Linked DNA regions of Homo sapiens: regions 1 and 3 are each linked to region 2. Evidence: promoter capture Hi-C in human tissues and cell types (Jung and others, 2019). All regions are on one chromosome and are shown on one strand. The core of a region is centred on a gene start or on the middle of the fragment in contact, and the rest is flanking DNA. Distances in the headings are between cores, read along the strand shown.

Region 1 (4,036 bases), core at 35-2,534, 50 kb after region 2:
ACATATCTTTTATTTGGATTATTCCTACACTAGCTGCACAATGCCATCATTGTTTCCTCCACCAAGAAGAGCTGGGTGGGCCATGTTCATTGAGAAAATCAGTTTCTCTCAAACAGGAGAAAAAATGGCATTGTCCTATCGCTATGTGAATAATTCAACTAAAAAGAATAACTGTTCTCCCAGTAAAGCTTTTTCTTTCTTAGAAAAATTGGGTTTCTTTATATTCCATGCCTTTGCTTCAGAGCACAATATGTGACCTGGGAAAGGCATTTACCCTTGTTAAACCTTCATTTTCTCATTTCTAAAATTACAAGGGTTATCTCCATGATCTTTAGGAAGCCAGAACTGATCTGGTTCTAATGGTCCTTTGATTCTAATTAGAAATTTCCAACTGCAAAAGTTGAGGGGGATTCTTACATCTTCAGAAGCCAACTAATTAAACAACTTTTGCTGTAATGAGTGTCAGTCACCTTTATGAATCAGCTTGTCACTTAATAATAGAAATAGCTGGCTTCTGGCCCATGCAGAAGGAATGTAGAAAATAGACTATAGTAACAAGCTGACTCCCATTCTCCTGTTGTTCCCTGCCTCACTCAGTTTCCACAGTCAACTTAGGACAATTCCATACTGTGATTATTTACTCCTGCTTTGCTTTCGTAATTCAACAAACAGTATTAACCACTTACTATGGCGAGGCATGGTTCCAGGTGCTAAGGACCCACAGTGGATTTGATTACAAATTACAGGTAAAATAATAAAGCAATAAAAAGGATAATTTTGCTTTCATCATCGAAAGCTCAGTGATAGAGTAAGCTTTAGACTTTATTTGCCTCAGCAATGCAGCAGTGGTAGAGGGCAGAGGAGAAGTCTCATCCTAAGCCTTGCTCCCAAGGCTGGTTATAGGATGCTGTATTAGTTTGCTGGGACTGCCGTAACAAATACCAAAGATTGGGCAGCTTAAACAACAGAAATTTACTTTCTCACAGTTCTAGAAGCTAGAAGTCCTCTATCAAAGTGTTGGCTAATTTTATTTTGAGGCCTTTCTCATTGGATTGTAGATGGCTGTCTTCTCCGTTTTTTTCACATGGCTTTTTTTCTGTCCATGTCTGTATCCTAATCTTCTCTTCTTATGAGGACACCACCAGTTATACTGGATTAGGGCCCACCCAGAATTACCTCATCTTTTTTTCTTCATTATCTCTTTAAAGTCCCTATCTCTAAGCATGTCACATTGTGAAGGACTGGAGGTTAGGACTTTAACATATGAATTTAGGGGAGATGCAATTCAGCCCATAACAAATGCCTGCTAGTAACTCATGGGAACTCTCTTCCACATGCAAAGAGATAAAATGTGATTTCTGCAAGTTTTATTAGAAATATAGGAAGGAACCCTTCCCAGCAGGGCTTGACAAGCCTGTGCATGTGCCTCACTGACATAACTAAGTTATAGGGTCATATTTGAACTAATCCATGGAACAAGACATGCAATTACACTGATGAGCTTAGGCTGAAGTCAAATGTCTCACTCCTGAAAATTCAGACTTCCCCAAAACACATGGGCTGAACAGGTAAGATGGATACTTCAACTGAAAGCCAGGGTACTTAACAAAAGCAGGAGAAATAGATGCTGGGGAGGTAATCCCAACGTCCAGTGCAAATGCTATGAGGGAAAACGACAGAGTCCCAAACATGCTGGAGCTTATAGTTAGAGGAAGGAAAAATTAGATTTTTCTCAGGGCTTTGGGATTGGGGCACCTGGCAGTCAGCGCCTAGATTCCAAAGCAGGTCAGAAGATGCCTCTGCCCAAGTATTGGAAACCTTTTGAATATCTTTGAGTATTAAAAACATTTTAACACTGCCTGAGAAAAGTAGTAGTTATGAAGTTATACATTTAGCCTATCCCATTCAACTCAGGGGATTGTACACAGATCAAATAAATTGCAATTGTGTTTCCCTCCCTGATATTCACATAGGAAGGTGAGTGGTGAGCAGTAAACTTCAGGACCTTTAAAGTTATCATTGCTTTCACCCTTGCACCAGCTTTTTGAGGTAAATATTCCCATTTTCTAGGAGAGGATAATGAGGCTCAGAGAGGGTAAGTGGCCTCCCCAGGGTCTTCTAGCTGAATTGTAACCAGCTTGATCTTCCTTTTGAATTCCACCATCTTGCCTGTGAGGGAAAAAGGAATAAGGAGCCAGGAGTTGCAGGGTCATTCTTCTCCTCAAGAGGCTTGAGAGTAACTAAGTATCTGTTCAAAACACTTTTGAGAATTTGGCGGCCTCATTACGTTTCTCAGGAGTCCCTGGGGGAGGTTACACTTTTAGGATCCCCAGGAATAGAGTGACAAAATACAGCTACCACAACTTGGTCCTGTGCAACTGTGCCCTTGCTCAGCAATTACTGACTCCATTCTGACTGAACTCTGCCAAAAACTCTTAACATTAATAATTATTACCTGTTCTCAATTTTAATAATTAAGAGTTTTACAACTTCCAGTGACTCTTAATTCAGGTTTCTTTGGCTTACTGTTCTTGGACAATAACAGTATGGTCACTGTTGCACAGACAGAAGCTAGACATAGTCTGTATAGCTAACTCCCTCATGTCCTTCAAATCTTTCTTCAAATGTCAGTTTCTTTTGGGGCCTTCTGTGACCAACCTGATGAATAGAGCCCACCAGCCCCAGACCACAGCGTTCCTGACTTCCTTTACTCTGCTTCACTTTTCCCTTTTTCACAGCAATTGTCACATTCTATTCTACTATAACTTACTTATTTATTGAATTTACCACTGATTGTTTGCCTAACCTCACTATAAGACAGGGATCTTTGTTTTATTCTCCAAGAACTTAGAACAGTAGTTATTCAATTAATATTTGTTGAAGCAATGAATGAACCAAATGAATGAATGAAAGATGAATATAAAAATATTTATATGTCCTAACACTCTACTAAGCATTATGACAGAATATCCACCAAAAAAAAAAGATGAGAAGGAGAAACCATTATTCTTCTGTAGCAGGGCTAACAGAACATGAGCAGATGGCAAACGTGAGATTATCAGCACCTTCTGGGCTAGTTCCTGGAAATCAGCTGATTTCCTGCTGCTTCCAAAAATTCTTAAAGCTTTCAGACTCCTGAGCAAGCTCCTGCAAAACACCTATTTTGGTGCTGCAAGCACCTGCAGTAGCTCTCTAGTCATTCAGGTACTTGTTGACCTTAGGAACTCAAGCCATAGCTTCCACGATTTTCAATCCCTGATCCCTCTTCAGTCTCAAATTGCTGTATCCAAAACCCTTCCTACTTGCAATATATTAGAAAGGCCACCTTCTGACCAAATCTGAAAAGTTGGGTAGGTTTGTAGAGGATGAGTTTTTGGATTATTCCCAATTCTTTTGATCCTCACCCCAACCTCCTAAGACTAAAGCTACAGTGGCCTCCCTTTAGGGAAGAAAGCAGAGGAAAGGAGCAGAGGAATTATTTTCTGTGAATTAACTGTTTCTAGATTCTAATATTAGTGACTAAACTGCCATTTGTACTTCCTATATTCCTGTTTTAGCAAGAGCTAAAAGAGTTTCAAAGAAGGTAAATTGTATTCTAAGAAGAGAATTCAGAAAGTCCTTTCCAGAATAGATGAATCTTAAATGATGGGCAGGTTTCCCACAGAGATAGGTGGGGAAGCCATTCTAACCTAGAAAACAGGATGCCTAGAAGTATGCAGTGTTTTCAGAAAATGGCAGACACAGGCTTCCTTGGCTAGAGAACAAAGACTTCATACAGGAGTAGGTTCATAAATACAAGCACAAGAGACCTTTATAGCATTGGGGTCTAGTGATTCTCAATTATTCTGCCTATAAGCATCAACTGCAAGAATAGTTAAAATTCTATTGAAGAGAAGAAATGTTTCCTGCTGTGCCAGAAACCCTTAAGAAAAAGCAAAGGAATTTCACAGAGCTGAAGATCAAGCACCTGAGAAACAAGTTTGCCTCAAGAGATGCTTCCAAAGGCAAGTTGGAAGCTTATTGATGAAAAAGTGAA
Region 2 (4,157 bases), core at 288-2,787:
GCATCTAGAAATGGAACAATGCATTAGAGGATATGTAATTCCAGCTTTACTAAATACTGCTGAATTGCTTTTCAAAAATTACCACATCAACTAACTCTCACCAGAAGTAAAGATGTACACCCGTTTCCCTTCAATCTTGTCAGCACTTGGGGATAGCCACACGCTAGCTTTCACTATAATAATAGGTAAACATTCTTACTGGTTTTAGTTATTTTCCTTAATTTTTAATATGGTTGAGCCTATCTTCATACTCATTTGTTAGTTGGAATATGCTGCACTTGTTTTGCTATTGAGTTGTTGTCCTGTTTTGAACCTTTCCTTAAGAGTCCACAGCTTATCCAGTTTTCTACACAACTCACTTCTGTTTGCTGCCCTTCATTATAGACTCAATGCCTTCTCATTGCTAGAGCACTGTGCCCTCCTTGGGGCTCGATGGTTTATAATAAAGCTTCCCCAGGAGATCTCATGGGGGCCAGGTTCTTTAGTGGTGGCCACTAAAGCTACTACCTCTTATTCCAGGTGCCATAAACCAGTGGCTGGACCTGGTTGGTTCACAGAGTGTTCTCAATGTGAGGAATCAGGTATTGTGCTTGGTTGTCATATAAGCAGCTTAGTTCCCATTGTTTTATACCTGGCCTGCTACCCTCATTCATGTTACCTTCATGCCCCATAGACATTTGAGATTTGATGCAAACCAGTCTGTTACAGTAAAAGCACCACTGTCTAGGAAGTTCTGGAGATGGGTTATCAGCTCATTTACATCAGCAGCTGCGGGATCTTGGGCAAGTCATTTCACCTATTGGAGCCACTCTCTGCTAGCATAAAGGAGAACATAAAGATACCTTCCCTGCCTATCTCACAAGGTTGTTTGGGAAACTGAATGAAAGAACGTGTAAATGTGCTTTGCAGGTTTTTTGTGAAACAGGAATAGCTGTTAGTATTCTCGCCTAGCCCTGTCTGTGGTGCCCAGGATGCTGCATTACCTCCTTTCTACCCTCGCCCTGAGTATTGGTCCTAGGTAGAAGCTGAGGTGAATATACTGAAAGCAGTAAGAATCTTCACCAGGCCCCTCCCAGTCATATCACAAGGTGTTGTAGCTTATTGACAAACACAGACCTCATGTTTCTCTGAGAACCGCCCTGTGAACACCTAGATAGAACTAAGGGTGTGAAATACAAACGTACTATTTGCCTACACTTACGGAAATAAGAGCACATGACACAGTAGATGGCAAGGTGAGGCTTTAAGTCAGAAAGCAACCTCAGCTGAAACAAATGCATAATTATAATTTGATTTCAGAAGTGGAAACATGACCCGAATTCATGCACCTACTGATTAGTCCAAATTCCTTTATTGTTGAAGCTGGAGCAGAAGTGGGGGTCCACCGTGGAAGTAAGGAAAAGCAAAACAGAACAGGGGTCTCATCCAGGGAGCCATGTCGATGGCTATGGGGAGCTCCACCTTGCTCTTGGGGTGGGGCCCTGGCCCTGGGTGGGACTGTGGGGTGATGAGGGTTGTGCTATGCTGGCTACCTGGTGGTAATTGCCAAGGAGAGAGCAGCACGTAGATCCTCCCTGTCATCAGGCAGAGCTCTTCAGTGAGGTGGGCTCAGGGAGGGCTCTGTGCCTCCGTTCAGCAGAGCTGCAGCTGCTGCCCAGCTCTCAGGAGGCAAGCTGGACTCCCTCACTCAGCTGCAGGAGCAAGGACAGTGAGGCTCAACCCCGCCTGAGCCATGCCAGCCAACTTCACAGAGGGCAGCTTCGATTCCAGTGGGACCGGGCAGACGCTGGATTCTTCCCCAGTGGCTTGCACTGAAACAGTGACTTTTACTGAAGTGGTGGAAGGAAAGGAATGGGGTTCCTTCTACTACTCCTTTAAGGTAAGTTTCTTGCCTGCGACTCTGAACACTGACTTATAACAATGAGACTGCTGGAACTTAAGAGTGTCAATTGAAGTATCATAGCCAGTATTGTGAATGAGTGTTATTTTCTTTACTAAAAAGGATTTTTAAAAGTCTGAAGTGCTAAAACAACAAGCTGTAGTGTGCAGAGACCTAGATTGTAGTTTCTTAGGAATACAGGTGACGTTTTTCTTTCTGATGCTGCTGGAAATGTGTGAATCGTGAGTAACATTTATGAGTGGATGATTTTTACTTTCCCCCTTTCCTTAGGTGAAAGCACTTTTAATTAATCCTATAGCAGTACTTGAAATGTCTGTTTCTAGTAGGGGTTAGAGCTATGAGTTTTTTGCTAGGAACACCAGAGATGCGGAAAGCTCACAATCCCCAGGACAGTGACTGATATGATGAGAAACAACATTGAATAAGGCAGGAAGGACGACACTTTCTTTGATGATCCTTTTCATTAAACATCAGTGAGGAATATATTTCTTTGAGGGTAGTTGATGATGCCACCATTTGCAACAAATTACCTCCTAGAACAAATGAAGGACAGAGAGTTTGGTGAGTTTCACCTTCAAAGTATCCAAGGGCCACACTGAGGAAGGATCTTCATTAAGCTAATACTGTATTGTTTCTTATTCCGCAACAAGATCTTGTGGACAGAAATGAACCGCACATTTGGGAAAAGAACAGTTTCCTGCTTCTTGCCTCAGAATGCTGGGTTGTCAGGTTATTTCACACCTGTCTAACGATATGTTTAGTCATTGCAATAATTCACAGGTCTCAAACTGGTCCTTTCCACTGAAGAAAAAATACTTCAAAAAGATTCTAGTTGTTGCTTTGTTGGGTTTTGTTGTTGTTGTTGTTGTTAATCCTCTGTATGTTCTTGAAATGATTTGGTTTTTACACAATGAGATAGCATTACTGTAACATCCACCTCCCTACTGGAAGTTCACTTCTTTTGCAAATATTCAGAATAAAACTTTCAGCAGGGTGCTGTCCCAGGAGTCAGACTTAAACTTCCAGGGCCCTAATGATCCTGCAGCAAAGCAGAACCTGAGCAAACTACTCCTCCACTGGCTTCAGTGAAACCCTGTCCCTTGGAATCACCTCCTAATGCATATGCACATACGCAGCCCAGCTGCACAGCTCCACGATGTAGCTTAGAAAGTAAAATTAGAGTTTGTTGCCACTTAATGTCGACTGAATAATCCCCTTTATGAAATCAGCCTGCAGACCCAGAGAGTCTGTCTTGGCAGGCTGTGTGCACCCAGGAAGCACAGGACTCCACTCAGTATTGCTGCCTGTGTAGCCTCTTTGATATTCTTAGAACATGATAGCAAGCAGAATGAAGAGAGGCCCTCCATTGCAAAGGGAATAAAATCAGCAATAAGGTGGTTATTCTGAGACTCTGGCAAGAATCAATCTCAGCTGAAATCTCATTTGCCATTTTTTGAATATAGCACCTACAGGGATATTTGGAATATGTGAAGAAACAAATCCCACCTTGCTCTCTATGAGTGTTTGTCCTCTCTATCCTAGCAACATCATCGCCAGACACTAAAGAGAATCACAGCATCTCTAGCTGATTCCTATTGATATGTTTGCAGCAAAACGGCTGGACCACTGGACAAGGAGAAAAGCAGAAAGACAGGAATTGTGTTTGGCCAGGAGCTTAGAATGCTCAGATTCATTATTTGAGAGATACGTGTATTGACTAAAACCCTGTGATTTTTAGTTACACAGTGATTACTGGTGGTATTTGTGAGAACTTAGCTTATATTTCTTAGTGTAACTTTTTTTCTATGATCCCCTTTGGGCACAAGCAATTCTAATGCATTGTTGATACAGAAATAGTTCCAATGCAAGCCCTTGTTCACTGCAATTCATTTTATCTGACATACTTCTAGAGAAGAAATTCGAAACCATGCTCCCTTTACTGTCTCCCAGATGTATCCCCTTTAATCCCCATTGCCTTCATCAAAAGCAGTAAAAAAAATAGCATGAAAATAAAAATAGCAGCAGCAGTAAAAGTCACAGAAATAACAGCAACAACCATACGTCTCATTTACTTTGGGCATTCTTGGTGCCAAGAGTCATAGCAAGACTCACTTAGCAAGTGACTTCTGTGAAGTATCTCATTTAATTCTCACAATCCATGGTGTATCTTTCCTTCCGGTCCTGCCTTCCATCTTCATCTGTTTATCTCAATTTTACCCAGTCTATAAAGCTCAGCTTGGGTTGCTTCCTCCATGAA
Region 3 (3,974 bases), core at 956-3,455, 43 kb before region 2:
AAATTAATTGGAAATAGATGTGAACCCATTTGCATGGACTTCAATAATGAAAATCACGAGCATCAGATGGTAGCTTCTGCCTGATGCTTCACAGACTCTGTACAAGCTGCGTAATGGGAGATAAAGGTGAAGTTGTCCAGGGAGTAAATATTAGGGTAGACTCAAACTTGTAAGTTATCTCAGGAAGCGAGCATTCTCAGCATGTGGAATAGAAGGCCTGGCACTTACTACAGAGTGCTCCCACTACCACTTAAAGAAGGTGAAAACAGCTCCAGACAACTTCTGTCTGTACCCACATGCATGGGAAAGAAGCCAAGGAATGTGCTTTGTAGCCTGCAAATGCATTCCACTGAAATGCCTTCCTACACTTTACAGCCAACCAACCTTTTCCTCATGGAATAAAACAGACCCAGCATGAAGATTGCCTTTCCCTTTTGTCTAGGACAACATATTTGAACAGCTACCCATCCCCACCCAAGGCCCCATGACAGGCAGCTGTGCACATTTCGGGAGCAGCATGTATACAACTTGCAGGAACCAAAGTGGAAAATAGGGACCAAATCCTCCAAATACCTAAAATCTGTATTTGGATTGCTAATTGCTGCTTCTGACCACAGAGGTACAGACAAAGATATGAGTGGCCATTTCCCCATTGTTGCAAACCCCTCTTTCTCTAGCTAGAGTGACTTTCACAGGATTTAAAAGACCAGTACCCTCTCATCCCTTTCTTTATTTTTCTTTTTCCAACTTTTGGAGCCAGACATGAAACACTAAGATACTGAGAAACAACTACATATACAGGGAAAATTGGAAAGGGATCATGCATGTTTAGAGAAAACTGCAGACTCAGAAAGGCCTGAAAATATTTTAAGTTTACACCTCAAGCTAATCATTGGCACAAATACAGTCAATGACAACCCAAAAAGCAAAACAATGAACAACTTTTTAAAAAGCAAACCCTGAGGAAGAGGGAGAATCTGATTTGCTATTAGATAATTTATGAGGTTACAATAATTAGATAAATTATTAGATTCAAATACCCACTTTTCAACAATAAATTACATGGCATACAAAGAAACAGGAAATATGGCACATGCCAAAGAAGCAGAAACTGTCCCTAAAAATGACATGATGACAAATCTACCAGACAAAGGCTTTAACAAAAATGTCTTAAAGATTCTCAAATAACTGAAGGAAGATGTGGAGAAAGTCAAGAAAACAAGGTATGAATAAGTTCAAATATTAATAAAGACAAAACTTAAAAAGAAAACAAAGAGAAATTCTGAAGCTTAAAGGTATAATAACTAAAATGAAAAATCTACTACAGAGACTCAAATGCAGATTTGAGCAGGTAGAAGAAAGAATCAGAGGACTTGAAGATAGGACAATAAAAATTATTGAGTATGAGAAACAAAAGGATTAAAGAAAAATGAACAGAGCCTAGGGTCCTCTGGGATATCATCAAGTGGACCAATATATGCATTGTAGGGGTCCCATAAGAACAAGAAAGGAACAGAGAGAATATTTGCAAAAATAATGACTGAAAACTTCCCCAAAGTGAATAAAGACATAAATAAAAACATTCAAGAAGCTCAACAAACACCAAGTAAGATGAACTAAAAAAATATTCACACTGAGACACATTGTAATCAAACTTTCAAAATACAAAGACAAAGAAAGAATCCTAAAAGCAGCAAGGGAGAAGTAGCTGGTTACATATAAAGGATCCTCAATAATATTATCAGCATATTTGTCATCAGAAACTTTGGTAAACAGAAGACAGTCAGCCAATATATTCAAAGTACTAAAAAACAAACAAACAAACAAACAAAAAAGCTGTCAACCGAGAATCCTGTATCTGGCAAAACTGTCCTTCAAAAGTGAAGCAGAAATTAAGGCATTCCCAGATAAGCAAAACTGAGGGAGTTTGTCACCAGTAGAAATGTTCTGCAAGTAGTGCTTAAGGGAGTCCTGCAAGGTGAAATGAAATGACATCAGACAAAACTGAAAGCTAGATGAAGAAGTAAAGATAGTAATAAAGGTAAATGCATAGGCAATTATAATAGCTAGTATTTTTGTTTATTTTGATTAAGACATTTATGTCAAGGGATAAGTGTGCAATAATGCAGATATGGTTCATTTTTCTAAACAGAAAGTTAGAACAGGTTATACAAATATCACATAGTTTTACTGGAGAACTTTCGAGGTCATTAAAGGTTTTGAGAGTTATGGCAGATACATAGCAAATAATAGTAAAGAGCAAAGAGTATGAGAAAATCAGTAGTCAGCAACATGTTAGCAGTCAGTCATTGATGCTTATACAGGCCCATAGAGTCCAAACAAAGAATCTGGATTTCTGAACATTATACCTTTATGTCTTCTCAAGAGAAACCACAAATCTTCTTTTTAAAATTCTGCATATATGTGCAGTATTTCATAGAGAGCATTGGAACAGAAAAGTCAAGCATCCAAAACCTTTAAGCAGCATAAAAAAATAGCAAAATGACAGAAATAAGTCCCTCCTTATTAGTAATTACTTTAAATGTAAATGGATTAAGCTTTCCATATAAAAAACAGAGATTGACAGAATGGATTATTTTTAAAGAAACACATGATCTAACTATATGCTGTCTACAAGAGATACTTTACATCCAAAGACACAAATAAGTTGAAAGTGAAAGGATCAAATATTATATTTCATGCAAATAGTAACCAAAAGAGAGAAGAGGTGGTTATACTAATATCAGACAAAATAGACTTTAAATTTAAAAAGATTATGAGAGACAAAGAAGGACATTATCAAAGACTTAATATGGCAATATAGCAAGAATATATAATAATTATAAACCTATACACACCTAATGACAGACTGTAGCATAGAAATATATAAAGCAAAAGAATTGAAGGGAAAAGTAGACAGTTCTACCATAATAGTTGGAGATTTCACTACTGTACTCTCAAAAACTGATAGAACAATCAGATGAAAGATAAGTGAGAAAACAGAGGATGTAAACAACACAATAAACCAATTAGTTTTAACAGACAAATACAGAACACTACCCAAGGAAAAAAAAAAAATACACATTCTTCTCAAGTGCATATAGGACATTTATATGTTAGGTCACAGATAAAATCACAGTAGATTTGAAAAGACAGACATGATACTAAGTATCTTCTCTGATGACAATGGGATGAAGTCAGAAATTATTAATATAATTAAAACTGGAAAATGCACAAATTTGTGGAAATTAAACAGCACACTCTTAATCAACCATGAATCAAAGCATCAATTACAAAGGAAATTAGAAGATATTTAGAGACGAATGAAAATGAAAACATAACATGCCAAAAATGCATGGAACATAGTGAAAACCACGCTAAGGGCAATATTTAAAGTTATACATGCCCACACTAAAAAATAAGAATGATCTCAAATCACCAACCAAACTTTATGACTTAAAAAATGGAAAAAGGAGAACAAATTAAACAAAAGCTAGTAGAAGGAAAGACAAAATAAATATTAGAACAGAGATAAATGAAATAGAGAAAAGGAAAATAACAGGGAAAATCAATTAAACCAAAAGTTGGTTATTCAAAAAGATCAACAAAATTAAAAAATCATTAGCTGAATGGACTAAGAAAAGACTCAAATTTCTAAAATGAGAAATGGAAATGGGACATTACTATTGATTTTACAGAAATAAAAAGGATTGTAATGTAGTACTATGAAAAATTCTATACCAACAAATTGTATAACCTAATGAAATAGACAAATTCCTAGAAACATAAACCATACCAAGATAAATCATGAAGAAATGGAAAATCTAAATAGACTTATAACTACTAAGAAGATTTGGTGAATGTGACCAAACATTTAAAGAAGAACTAATACCATCCTTCTCAAACTTTTCTGAAAAGTAAGGAGAGAACACTTCCTAAATTATTCTGTGAGATTAGCATTACCCCGATGCTAT

What was found. The method cuts DNA at HindIII sites, captures the fragments that hold promoters and counts their contacts. A contact is called where the count stands out against the background at its distance.
Region 1: a contact is called between a fragment that was not itself captured here and the fragment with the promoter of NPSR1 in region 2, in 4 of the 25 tissues and cell types used here (adrenal gland, aorta, liver and 1 more).
Region 3: a fragment that was not itself captured here is called in contact with the fragment with the promoter of NPSR1 in region 2 in 2 of the 25 tissues and cell types used here (small bowel and stomach).

The regions. Positions count from the first base shown.
Region 1 is chr7:34,706,883-34,710,918 of GRCh38, forward strand. The region is part of intron 2 of NPSR1 (neuropeptide S receptor 1); the gene reads left to right. The region is part of intron 2 of NPSR1-AS1 (NPSR1 antisense RNA 1); the gene reads right to left. Among named protein-coding and RNA genes, the nearest start is that of NPSR1-AS1, 49 kb to the right of the region's middle. The HindIII fragment of the contact is 4,572 bases long and covers 1-3,570 here.
Region 2 is chr7:34,656,681-34,660,837 of GRCh38, forward strand. It overlaps NPSR1 (neuropeptide S receptor 1), which reads left to right and starts at 1,538. Exons shown (of 9, transcript NM_207172.2): 1 at 1,538-1,879. The coding sequence starts at 1,733. The region is part of intron 2 of NPSR1-AS1 (NPSR1 antisense RNA 1); the gene reads right to left. RefSeq lists an enhancer at 3,577-4,157. The HindIII fragment of the contact is 11,658 bases long and covers 1-4,157 here.
Region 3 is chr7:34,612,562-34,616,535 of GRCh38, forward strand. All of the region lies in intron 2 of NPSR1-AS1 (NPSR1 antisense RNA 1), which reads right to left. Among named protein-coding and RNA genes, the nearest start is that of NPSR1, 44 kb to the right of the region's middle. The HindIII fragment of the contact is 3,781 bases long and covers 316-3,974 here.